2 separate regions of the Homo sapiens genome follow, and region 2 is linked to region 1. Evidence: promoter capture Hi-C in 16 types of primary human blood cells and fetal thymus (Javierre and others, 2016). All regions are on one chromosome and are shown on one strand. Each heading gives the region's core, a stretch centred on a gene start or on the middle of the fragment in contact. The rest is flanking DNA. Distances are from core to core; before and after follow the strand shown.

Region 1 (5,995 bases), core at 89-2,588:
AAAGATCCCGATTTTCCAGGCTGGATAACCCAGAAACCACGGAATCCTAAAGTCTCAATAAACGTTAAAGCACAGATAGTAAGTAATCTGGCAATAGAGGATGGGCGCCCAGCAGACCGCCTACATAATCAGTGGAGCCGAGTGCAAGATGAAAATACCAGGCACTTGCTTTAAAATTACTAATAATTTCAAGACCGTTAACACTAGAACATTAAACCAAACATTCAGGACCCTTCTAAGCGCAGAGGCCATCAAAGCTAGCCCTGGTGACAAGCTCAGGTCTCCGGATCTAGAGACTAGGAGACGTCGCCCGAAAGCTGGCCAAACCCTCGCCCTCACTGGGAGAGGCCCCAGGAGGGCCCAAGAAGGCCACGAGCCCTCGCTCCCATCCCTGCCCTCAGGAGCGGGCGGAGGGAAGCTCGCAGCTTTCCCAAGGAAGTGCAGGCTGCAGGGAATGAAGTTCAGCTCGGACCCTGAGCCTCTGAGCCCGAGACAGCAAGGTCATTCAACCCACACGTCCCCACCCAGCCAGGGCGAGGATCAGAGATGTGGCAACTCCCGGCCTTGGACTCAGGCTTGTTACTCATAAACCCGCAGGAGGGGGCAGGAGGGGGCAGGAGGCGGCGAGCGCGCACCCTGGACCCGCGGCCGGGGGCGGAGAGGCACCGCGAGGACAGAGGGACTAGCGAAGGTCTGCAAATCCCGGAGGGCCAAGGGAGCGTCAAAGGGGACAGCGGAACCGGAAAAGCTTTGACAGAAAGACGCGTGTATTAGGGAACGTCTGCAAAGACCGCGGCGGAAAGCCAGGGATTGTCTTAAAAAATTGTCAGACCGGATAAAGGGAGGTCTAAAAGGGGACCGTCCCAAGAGCAAGGCTTCCAAAAGCTAAGCCCGGAAGGACGGTATGGAGGTCTACTGGGACGCTGGGCACCCCTTAGGGCAGAACCGACTGGAGCTGCGGCCAGCGACAGAAGAACGGCTCCAGCTGGACAGGGGAAGCAGTGGGGAGAAAGGAGGCCCTTGGGCACTGTCTGAAAAGTGCGATGCCAAATGATCTTTAGGGACAGACAGTAAATTATATCCCTTGCTAAAATACCTCTCGGTAGCGAACCACCAAACGTTTCTTTTTTAAGCCCCGCCTCTCAGCCGTTACGCCTAGTTCGGCTGTCTCTGATTCAGGAAGCTGGCAGTTCCCACTTACTCCTCCCCAGCAAGAGCTAACAGCCCTCCTTGGGTGTGCACTTTCTCCTCCCCTCAGGCACCTCGCGCATTCTCCCGCCTACCTATCAATCATCGTGCTCCGCTGTCCAGTTGGCTGGCCAAGGGGGCGGGGCCGTCGTGTGACGTTTGCAGCCCGCCGGCCAGGAAGCCGCGAGATGCGTGACGAGCGAAGCGCGTGACGGAGGAGCGGTTGGCCAACGCAGTGGCGGCAGTCGGTGTAAACAAGGCCTCGCGCCGCTGCGGGTCCTGCGACCGCTCCTGGCTGGTGGGTGGTCTCGCGTGGGGCGGTTACCGCCGGCTTCAGTGGGAGGTGCTTCTCGGCTTCCTCCCCCTCATGGCGTACACACCCCCGGCGCACCACGTGGGCGTGAGGCGAGGAAGGAGGGGTGTTAGGCCAAATTCTATTTTCATTGGCTGTCACTGCTGCCGGCCTTTGTAAGGGGGCGCTCTGATTGGTCGATAAGGTGGGGGCGTCGAGGGTCTTTGAGTCCTAAGGCTTCTAATTGGTTAGATGAGATAAGCTAGTGAAGCGCTTTCTTCCGAGAGGGATTTCGATTGGTCGGTCAGAGAGGTTACCTGGAAATCCAACACCGCCCAACACCCCTCCCGCTCCCCAGTCCGGGGACTTCGATAGGTGAGTTTGGTGTAGAAAACAAATCTTTCTTCAGTTGGTGAGCTAGGGTAGCGCACTACGGTTCACTCTTGCTTTCTTTGCTTCACAGGATTGGAGAAGGTTTGTGTTCCCGACGCCTTGGTAGTTGGCATAGGCTAAAGAAAAGGGATCTCAGCCCCGAGGAAGGGTCACCCTCCTAGAGATAGCTACTACCCCGTCTCAGGAGACCCTGGTATTTCTAGAGCACGCTTTGCTTTCACCAAACCCAAGGAGGTGACAGGAGGAGCCCCCGCACAGGACCTAAGAATGCTGTGACCAGAAGATGGGATCGCGGAACAGCAGCAGTGCAGGATCCGGGTCCGGAGACCCCTCCGAGGGCTTGCCCCGAAGAGGGGCTGGCCTGCGTCGGAGTGAGGAAGAGGAAGAAGAGGATGAAGATGTGGATCTGGCCCAGGTACTGGCCTATCTCCTCCGCAGGTAACTTACCCTCTGGTGTGACCCCCAGCAGGTGCTACCACAGTGCCTTGATCCCAACTCCAGGCAGGAAAATTACAGAGGTTAGGAAATGGGATTCGCTCAGGACAGCTGTTCTGTTTGAGCTGAACAGCCTTTCCCTGCTGGGCACCCATGGCACTCAGCTCCATACCCAGTAAGAGTGGTTCTTACCTAGGGAGGGTCACCAAGAGGACCTGCTCATGTGTTTGAGGGGCTATTCAAGGGAGCCTGTCTCTGTGACTACACAAATATAGTCTATTTTCCAAGTAAGCTTGAAAAAAAAAAGGGGGGGGTCCTAGTGGGAAAGGAGTGATGTAAGGGGTGAAGAGATGGGAAGGGAGTGTTGAACTTTTTAGTAAGGCAGTTGACACATGATATGAGGCCACTTCGATTTACTTGAAAAACAAGTTTAATTTGCCCTGACTCTAACCTGTTCTTGAGGAAAGAATGCCTTGAAGGGAGAGACCACCTGGAATTGACTGGAAAAGGGTGCAGCTGGCTTTCTTTCTTTGCTTATGGCTCTTTGAGGAGAAGATGGGTTTGGGGGTCCCTTCAGAATATTGTATTCTTTTTTGTTTGTGTTTTGTGTTGTTTTTAGTAGACATAGACAGGGCTCACTGTGTTCCCCAGTCTGGAGAACGGGCTATTCACAGGTGTGATCAAGTGCACACCACAGCCTGCAACTCCTGGGCTCAAGCAATCCTTGCCTCCCAGGTAGCTAAGACTACAGTTGCACACACCACCGCACCCAGCTTAGAATATTGTCTTCTGTGGTGGACTTCTCAGGCAGAGGCTCAGAAGGAAATGCTGTGAGGATGTTTAGCTTGTTGGGAGGTCAACTTAGTAGGTCATGTCCACAGCGTATTGGTCTTGCTCTTGTTCTAAGGAAATGATGTTAGAATGTTTAGCTCGCTGGGAGGTCAACTTAGTAGGTCACGTCCACAGCATGTTGGTCTTGCTCTTGCTGTAAGAGTAAAACTCTCTTTCCTACTGTGTTTTATAGGAGACCAAAAATAACAGCCAAGGTCTAGTCAGCCTCAAACCTCAAAATGAGTACCAAGTGGTCTAAGAGCTAGATAGCCATTGACTCTGAATTTGGTTGGTTTGGGGGAAGAAGTCCCCTCCTTTATAATGGGGGTCTCTCCACAGAGGCCAAGTGAGGTTGGTGCAGGGAGGAGGTGCAGCAAATTTACAATTCATTCAGGCCCTCTTGGACTCAGAGGAAGAGAATGACAGAGCTTGGGATGGTCGTCTTGGGGATCGATACAACCCACCTGGTAAGAGGAAAAGCCCCTAATGTTGGAAGACTTTTACTAGAAAACCTTTTAGTGATATTTTGAATGATAGGTTACATTGAAAGAAGGTACGATAATTTAAGGAATAAGGAGTCCTTACAGCCCCAGTATATTCAGCCACAGGGGTGGGCTTGGGTACAGTTCTGCTAACTGTCCTCTGAGGCTGGCAGACCTAGGATGAAACTTCTCCTTGGTACTCACAGTGGATGCTACCCCTGACACCCGGGAGCTGGAATTCAATGAGATCAAGACACAAGTGGAACTGGCCACAGGGCAGCTGGGGCTTAGGCGGGCCGCCCAGAAGCACAGCTTTCCTCGAATGTTGCACCAGGTAGGCCTCTCCACCTCCCAGCCTGGCAGCAGGCCTGCCAAAGCAGCCAGAAGCTCTGCCAGCCCCAGAGAAAAAGGAAGTCAACTTTCCAAAGTAGAAGCCTCAAGCGCTGGGGCTGGAGAGTTAACCAGCCTCCATCGGAGTTCTGTGGGACAGACTATGATGTGTGTGTCCATTTCTATAACAAGAGCAATATCTTTGGAGGAGGGGGCTTGATATGGCTGAAGTGGCCCTCTATTTCTGCTAGCAATATTCCCCAATCCCTTCCATTTAGAGAGAACGGGGCCTCTGCCATCGGGGAAGCTTCTCCCTTGGAGAACAGTCTCGAGTGATATCTCAGTGAGTATGGGGCTTGGTGAAGAGACTCTAAGGGCCAGATAGGTCTTATCTCCTAAACTTTGAAGGGGTAGGTGTTAAAGGAGCCTCAGAGATATTAAAGGTTAGGTTAAATGGGGTTGAAACTTTGAGAGTAAACAAAGTAGAAAAGTGTAGAAAATTGTAGAAATTTAGAGGATGGTGGAATGGTTGAAAGACGGGATTGCACTCACAGCCAAAAGGGAAGAATGACTGTTCTGATATTCCAGCTCTGTTAGGATTCTGCTGATTGGGACACTCCTTATCCTGAGCACCCCTCACCCTCACTTTCTCTCTCCTTCCCTAGCTTCTTGCCCAATGATCTGGGCTTCACTGATAGCTACTCTCAGAAGGCTTTCTGTGGCATCTACAGCAAAGATGGTCAAATATTCATGTCTGCTTGCCAAGGTACCAGACCCTGGTCCTATAAACTATCTTTTCCTGGAACATGGGACATTCCCCCTGACTGAGGCTAGAAAGCCACAGACGGGGAGCTCAGACCTGGCTTAAGGATGCTTAGCCAGACCATGTTTCCCATGATAAAGGGAAGACTCCACAGGTACACTGAGTGGGAGATGTCTAATCTAGAAAAGTTACAAGGAAACTGTCCCATAATTCTGCCTGATCTTTACTTACACAGACCAGACAATCCGACTCTATGACTGCCGATATGGCCGTTTCCGTAAATTCAAGAGCATCAAGGCCCGCGACGTAGGCTGGAGCGTCTTGGATGTGGCCTTCACCCCTGATGGGAACCACTTCCTCTACTCTAGCTGGTCTGATTACAGTGAGTATGCACCAGGCTTCCACTGACTCTCCAGCCTGGGACCTGAGGTTTCCATGTGCCTGTCCCCTCTGAGCCAGGATCCCTCACTTTGTCCTGGGAAAATCACTCCCAAAGTGCTCCAGTACCCTTGTCCCCTGTTTGATCTCTTCCCTAGCTTCACTTCCACTCTTCTTCCCCCATCCCTGAAAGATTCTTGTTTTTCTTGCTTCTCTTAGTTCATATCTGCAATATCTATGGTGAGGGAGATACACACACTGCCCTGGATCTCAGGTACTGGCTTCCCTTTCTGGTCAGACTCATCAGAAACTTCTCAAGGGAAGCTCTTTGGGAGCAAACCTCTTGAGTTGGAAGTTCTGTTTAGGGGAAAAAGTATACTGGTGGGTCTGTGTGCATTCCTGGGAGGGAAGCACCATCTTGTCAGCCAGAGGACTGGGTAAAATAGATGGTTGCAGGATGATTTCTGGGTTCTCACTGAGCATCTGCATTATGGTGCATGTTAGCCAGACTTCTTTTTTCCCCTGGGGATGTGCCTTACAACCGTTGTCAGATTTTATGTAGATTAACAAAAGCTGAAGGAAGTCCACTTAACCCAGCTCCTTCTTGCTTTTAGGCCAGATGAGCGTCGCTTTGCTGTCTTCTCCATTGCTGTCTCCTCAGATGGACGAGAAGTACTAGGAGGGTAAGTGCTTGTGGGGTATGTTTCCCTCAATAACAAGATGGGGGTTCTGCCAGAGATGAGTTCTGCTGTTACACAGATGGCACTGGCAGCTGCAGAGAACAACCAGACCTTCTCCCAAGGTCAGGATTTACAAGTTGCTTCACCCCTTGCTCTCCATTTCCCCAGCACGAGATTGGAGGTGTCAAGCCTCCTTGAAACACAGCTAACTCTTCCCCCACTT
Region 2 (5,850 bases), core at 478-2,977, 2.9 Mb before region 1:
CTAAATCCCACTTCTTGCCCAGAGGCAATCAATGTTAATTGTTTGGCATATGTATTTCTGGACATATCTCTTATGTCTTTACATAGAAAAAAACAAATTCTACAGTTGGTGATAAGTGCTAAAGAGTATTTAGGAGAAGGGGAGCTTAAAGCGCTAAATAAGGGAAGACACATCACTAAGGGGGTAGCTTCTGAGTAAAAAGTCTCAGAGGAACTGAGGAACCAAACTGTATGAGTCAGAGAAAATTCCAAGGAAAAGCCCTAAAGTGGAAACATATCCAATGTGTTCAATACAGTTAAGAAGGCCAGTGTGGCTGAAGCACAGTATATTAACAGCAAGGGAAGGGACACAACAAATCACGTGGGATGCCCTGTAAATCACAGAAAAATTTTTGACTTCAATGCTGAAAAAGGCAGCCATTAGGTTGTTTGTTTTCAGGCAAAACATTTTTCAATGGCCAGGCGTGGTGGATCACGCCTGTAATCCCAGCACTTTGGGGAGGCAGAGACGGGCAGATCACAAGGTCAAGAAATCGAGACTATCCTGGCCAACATGGTGCAACCCTGTCTCTACTAAAAATAAAAAACAAATTAGCTGGGCTTGGTGGCTGGTGCCTGTAATCCCAGCTACTTGGAAGGCTGAGGCAGGAGAACTGCTTGAACCCGGGAGGCAGAGGTTGCGGTGAGCCGAGCTCGCACCACTGCACTACAGCCTGGGCAAAGAGAGCAAAACTCCATCTCCCCCCCAAAAAAAAAATCCTTCAAACAATACATTTTAGGATCAATCTAGCTATCACTTTTAAGAACAAAACTAGTGGGGAGGGACAAAAGAAATACAAACCTATTATATATAATAATGCACAGGAGACAAGGGTGGCTTGAAATTGGACCAAGTGTCGACAGTATGAGTAGTGGTATATTTTGAAGAGCTGACAGCATTTTTTCCTTTCTTTTTTTTGTGATAGGGTCTTGCTCTGTCACCCAGGCTGGAGTGCAATGGTGCGGGTGCGATCTCGGCTCACTGCAACCTCTGCTTCCTGGGCTCAAGCGATTCTCATGCCTGTCTCTCAAGTAGCTGGGACTACAGACACTTGCCACCACTCCTGGCTAATTTTTGTATATTTTTGAAGAGACAGGGTTTCACCATGTTGCCCAGGCCGGTCTCAAACCCCTGAGCTCAAGCGATGCGCCTCCCTCAGCCTCCCAAAGTGCTGGGATTACAGGCCTGAGCTACCACACCTGGCCAACATGATTTTCTAATAGGCCAAAGGTGAGAAGAGTAAAAGTCAAGGATGGCTAGCCAAAATCTTTGGCCCAAGAGACACAAAAATTGTTTCATTAACTGAAAAAGGCAACAGTACACAAGAGACTGGTTTGAGGCATGAACATCAGGAGCACAGTTTTGCACTTTTAAGTTGACATATTGGATATTCAACAGAGTTGTCATGCAGGTAAACTGAATTGGTATGACATTCGAAAGAAAAGTATAGGCTGTTGATCTTAAGTGTCGAAATCAGCTTATAGGTGGTATATTACATCATGAATGAATCTGAATGAAATTGGACCCAGAGTGTGGACAGAAAAGAGAAGTGGAAGGACTGAACCATGGGGCACTCCAACAGAAAGAAGTTTAACATGTAACAGAAACATGTAACAAAAACCTGGAAGCAAAGTAAAAAAAAAATAAAAACGTTTCAAGGAAGAGATCTGGTTAAATGGAACCAACAGGTCAAGTGAGATGAGGATTGAAAAAGGACCCCTGGGCTTAGTTAATGCATCCGTCTCCGTGGTTCTTTTTTAACCACAAATAATTTTTTTCTAACTGAAGTTCACTTCGGTTTTATAAGTCTTAGAAAAAAAAAAAAGATAGCTCACTTTTGTTTTTTTACTTTAAGAGATAGGGTCTCACTCTTGTCACCCAGGCTGGAGTACAGTGGCGCAATCATAACTCACACTGACCTCAAACTCCTGAACTCAATTAATTCTACCGCCTCAGCCTCCCAGGGAGCTACACTACAGCTGTGTGCCACCGTGCCCAGCTTTTTGTAGACAGGCTCTTGCTATGTTGCCAGACTTTCCTGGCCTTAAGCTATCCTCCAACTTCAGCCTCCCAAAGTGCTGGGATTATAGGCATAAACTGCTGCAACTGGCCTAAAGCTCACTTTTAAAATGTGCTTGCTTCCCTATTAACAATGCCATCACAACCATGGTAACATTTTACCAAGATACATCTACCTAAACATTAACTACCTTGCACATATACACATCTTTAAGCCATTTAAGGTGTTGGGAAATCAAGGGCAAAAATATAAACATATTTAGTTTTAAAATTTTAATAATAAAAGTCCAAAGTTGTTCTTTGGAACTTTAACCAAACTAAAATCTGTTTTTCTAGAATGCTCAGCCGGACACAGTGGCTCACGCCTGTAATCCCAGCACTTTGGGAAATCGAGGTGGGCGGATCACGAGGTCAGGATTTCTAGACCAGCCTGGCCAACATGGTGAAACCCCATCTCTACTAAAATATAAAAATTAGCTGGGTGTGGTGGTGCATGCCTGCAATCCCAGCTACTCAGGAGGCGGAGGCACAAGAATCGCTTGAACCCAGGAGGCGGAGGTTGCAGTGAGCCAGAGATCATGCCACTGCACTCCAGCCTGGTGACAGAGCGAGACTATGTCTCAAAAAAAAAAAAAAGTTCAACATATCAAAGTGACGAAAGGAGTCTACTATCATTAAGTGTTGAAATCTGCACCCTTAATCCCAGGGTTGAATCCATGCTAAACCACTAAAGCAGTTTAACTTTAGGCAAGTTATTTAAATTCTGTACTCCAATATTCTCACCTCTAAAACATGAATAACAGTATCTACTCCTACTCAAGGTTTTGATGATGATTAAGTTAACACAAACTCACAACTTTAACAGTGTTGGACATAGTCAAGTGTTTAGAATACTTCCATAAATTAATGTCCTGCTACTTTTTTCTGCCAAATCAGAAAGCCATTATATGACCCAACAAGGTATCAGAAATAATTAGTAATTTCCTGGAGCCTCATCAGTTCTCAACCTATCTTACTCAGACTGATTTTGCTCATTAATACACCCAATAAAAACTCATTTGAAAAACCAGGGCAAGTTATTGTTAGGCTTGGGATGATTATTTTCTTCAAGAGATTGAGACAGTGGCCTACTCTAATAGGTCTCCAAACTTACTGCCCTACTTGCCCTCTTAGTTCTCATCACTAATATTCCCTACACAACAGAAGATAAACCAGACCTCTTCTTCAAAATCCTTCAATAGATTCTACTTGTGCCCAAGACAGGATCTTAAACAAGACCCTCTAAGGTCCCGTGCTATGAAATGTTTGGTCCTTGCCTACCTCTCTAACTCCATCCCTCATCTATGTATTCTTGGTAATTATTTTCCAGTATTATTTCTTACTTGGAGGCCAAGTCTTGTTCCCCCTCATTATCTGTGCTTTCACATATGGTTTTCTTACAGAATGAGCTTCACCATTAGCTACTTCCACGTAGCTAAGCTTCCCTGGCAGCATCCCCCAAATTCCATGTTCTAATTTTGGTTCCCTTGCCATCTTCTCATCCACGCTCTTCTTTTCCTTCATCGATCCTTACTGTGAAAAGTGCCATTTACTTTGTTTCTTCCCTCAATGATCTATAATATCTAAGAGGGCAGGGGACATGTTTTGTTCATCCCTATATGCCCAAACCTAATGATTTTCAAATAGTACTCAGATACTTAATAAAACATCTTATACTTGAATGTTCCTTGAATACCTCCAAGATGTTTAAAATATTCTTTTTCCCACCCTCAAACTATAATCTGCTCCCTTCATTCATTCCCCAATATCTATCCCTATCCCAGAAGCTAGAAACCAGCAATCATGCCAAATCTGTGTTCTTGTCCACCTTATCACATCCATCCTGAGATGCTCCTAATTTTACCTCCTAATCTCTAATCTCATAGCATTACCTTTGTCCAAGCCAGGTCGTTATTCTTTCTTGGATTTTAATATCTCCTTTATTAATCTCCTACTTCCAATCTCATTTCCTCTACACCATTTCCATACTGTTATTAGAAAGACATTCCTAAAAATTAAAATCTTCCAGGAGTTTTTGAGACCAGCCTGGGAAACAAAATGAGACCTGTCTCCACCAAAAAAAAAAAAAAACAATAAAAAATAGTCAGGTGGGCCGGGCGCGGTGGCTCACGCCTGTAATCCCAGCACTTTGGGAGGCCGAGGCGGGCGGATCACGAGGTCAGGAGATCGAGACCATCCCGGCTAAAACGGTGAAACCCCGTCTCTACTAAACATACAAAAAAATTAGCCGGGCGTAGTGGCGGGCGCCTGTAGTCCCAGCTACTTGGGAGGCTGAGGCAGGAGAATGGCGTGAACCTGGGAGGCAGAGCTTGCAGTGAGCCGAGATCGTGCCACTGCACTCCAGCCTGGGCAACAGAACAAGACTCCATCTCAAAAAAAAAAAAAAAAAATTAGCCGGGCATAGTAGCAGGTGCCTGTAATCCCAGGTACTCGGGAGGCTGAGACAGAGAACTGCTTGAAACCAGGAGGCAGAGGTTGTGGTGAGCCAAGATCACACCACTGCACTCCAGTCTAGGTGACAGAGCGAGACTCCGTCTTATTTAAAAAAAAAAAAAAAAAAAAATCCCTTTATGTGATTAAGGTAGAAGGAATAAATTTATAAATTTAAAGTTATAAATAAAAATAATAAAAAAAGGATTCCCTGACCTCTCAGGGTTAGTTAGGTAACCATTTCTGCATGCTTTCTTTTTTTAAAAAGAGATGGGGTCTCGCTGGGTGCGGCAGCTCACACCTGTGATCCCAAAACTTCAGGAGGCTGAGGCGGGTGGATCACCTGAGGTCAGGAACTTGAGACCATCCTGGCCAACATGGCATCTCTACTGAACCCTGTCTCTACTAAAAATAGAAAAATTTAAGGCCAGGTGCAGTGGCTCATGCCTGTAATTCCAGCACTTTGGGAGGCCGAGGCGGGCAGACCATGAGATCAGGAGTTTGAGACCAGCCTGGCCAACATGGTGAAACCTCGTCACTACTAAAAATACAGAAATTAGCCGTGCATGGTGGTCCGTGCCTGTAGTCTCAGCTACTCGGGAGGCTGAGGCAGGAGAATCGCTTGAACCCGGGAGGTGGAGGTTGCAGTGACCCAAGATGGCACCACTGCACTCCAGCCTGGGAAACAGAGCGAGACTGTCTCAAAAAAAAAAAAAAAAAAAAAGATGGGGTCTCATTATGTTGCCCAGCCTGGAGTGCAGTGGATAATCACATCACACACTACAGTCTCTCAAATCCTGGGCCAAGGGACCCTCCTGCCTCAGCCTTCCAATTAGTTGTGACTACAGGCTTACAGGCAGGTACCAACGCCCCCAGCTTATTTTGGCATGCTTCTATAGGATATGTGTTTACCTCTCATCATATATGGACATTATTTCATTCATGTGTCTCCCTCACTAAGCTGCGAAGCCCTTAAACATAATAAACTATTTTTTATATCCCCAAACACAACATGTCCCATAAAAATAATAAATTTGTAGAATTAACAAGGAATAAATCAAACTGAACCTATAGTGAACAGCTTCCGTACACTGACAGCAGCAAAGAAGAAAAAATAGCTCTCATACAATAGAGAGCATCAATAAAACTTGCACTTATTTAAAAAATAAAGATTCCCATTCTTTTTCTAGATAACTTCCAGGAATCTTTTGCTTTTTCTCCCATTCTGTTTTGAGTGTACCTCTGGTGTTCACTTTAACTAGATTTCACTTTTCATCCGAGTATGGTATAAGGGGGCAAGTT

The links. The method cuts DNA at HindIII sites, captures the fragments that hold promoters and counts their contacts. A CHiCAGO score of 5 or more calls a contact.
Region 2: a fragment that was not itself captured here is called in contact with the fragment with the promoter of DCAF11 in region 1 in 1 of 17 cell types (total CD8 T cells); the score reaches 5.4 in total CD8 T cells.

Annotation. Positions count from the first base shown.
Region 1 is chr14:24,113,439-24,119,433 of GRCh38, forward strand. DCAF11 (DDB1 and CUL4 associated factor 11) reads left to right here and starts at 1,339. Exons shown (of 15, transcript NM_025230.5): 1 at 1,339-1,855; 2 at 1,944-2,311; 3 at 3,479-3,606; 4 at 3,828-3,955; 5 at 4,230-4,294; 6 at 4,617-4,717; 7 at 4,950-5,096; 8 at 5,312-5,366; 9 at 5,707-5,775. The coding sequence starts at 2,157. NRL (neural retina leucine zipper) reads right to left here and starts at 1,511. Exons shown (of 3, transcript NM_001354768.3): 1 at 1,284-1,511. RefSeq lists enhancers at 592-1,307, 889-1,028, 1,269-1,418. The HindIII fragment of the contact is 1,852 bases long and covers 747-2,598 here.
Region 2 is chr14:21,255,710-21,261,559 of GRCh38, forward strand. The region is part of intron 2 of HNRNPC (heterogeneous nuclear ribonucleoprotein C); the gene reads right to left. Among named protein-coding and RNA genes, the nearest start is that of HNRNPC, 11 kb to the right of the region's middle. The HindIII fragment of the contact is 3,616 bases long and covers 1-3,535 here.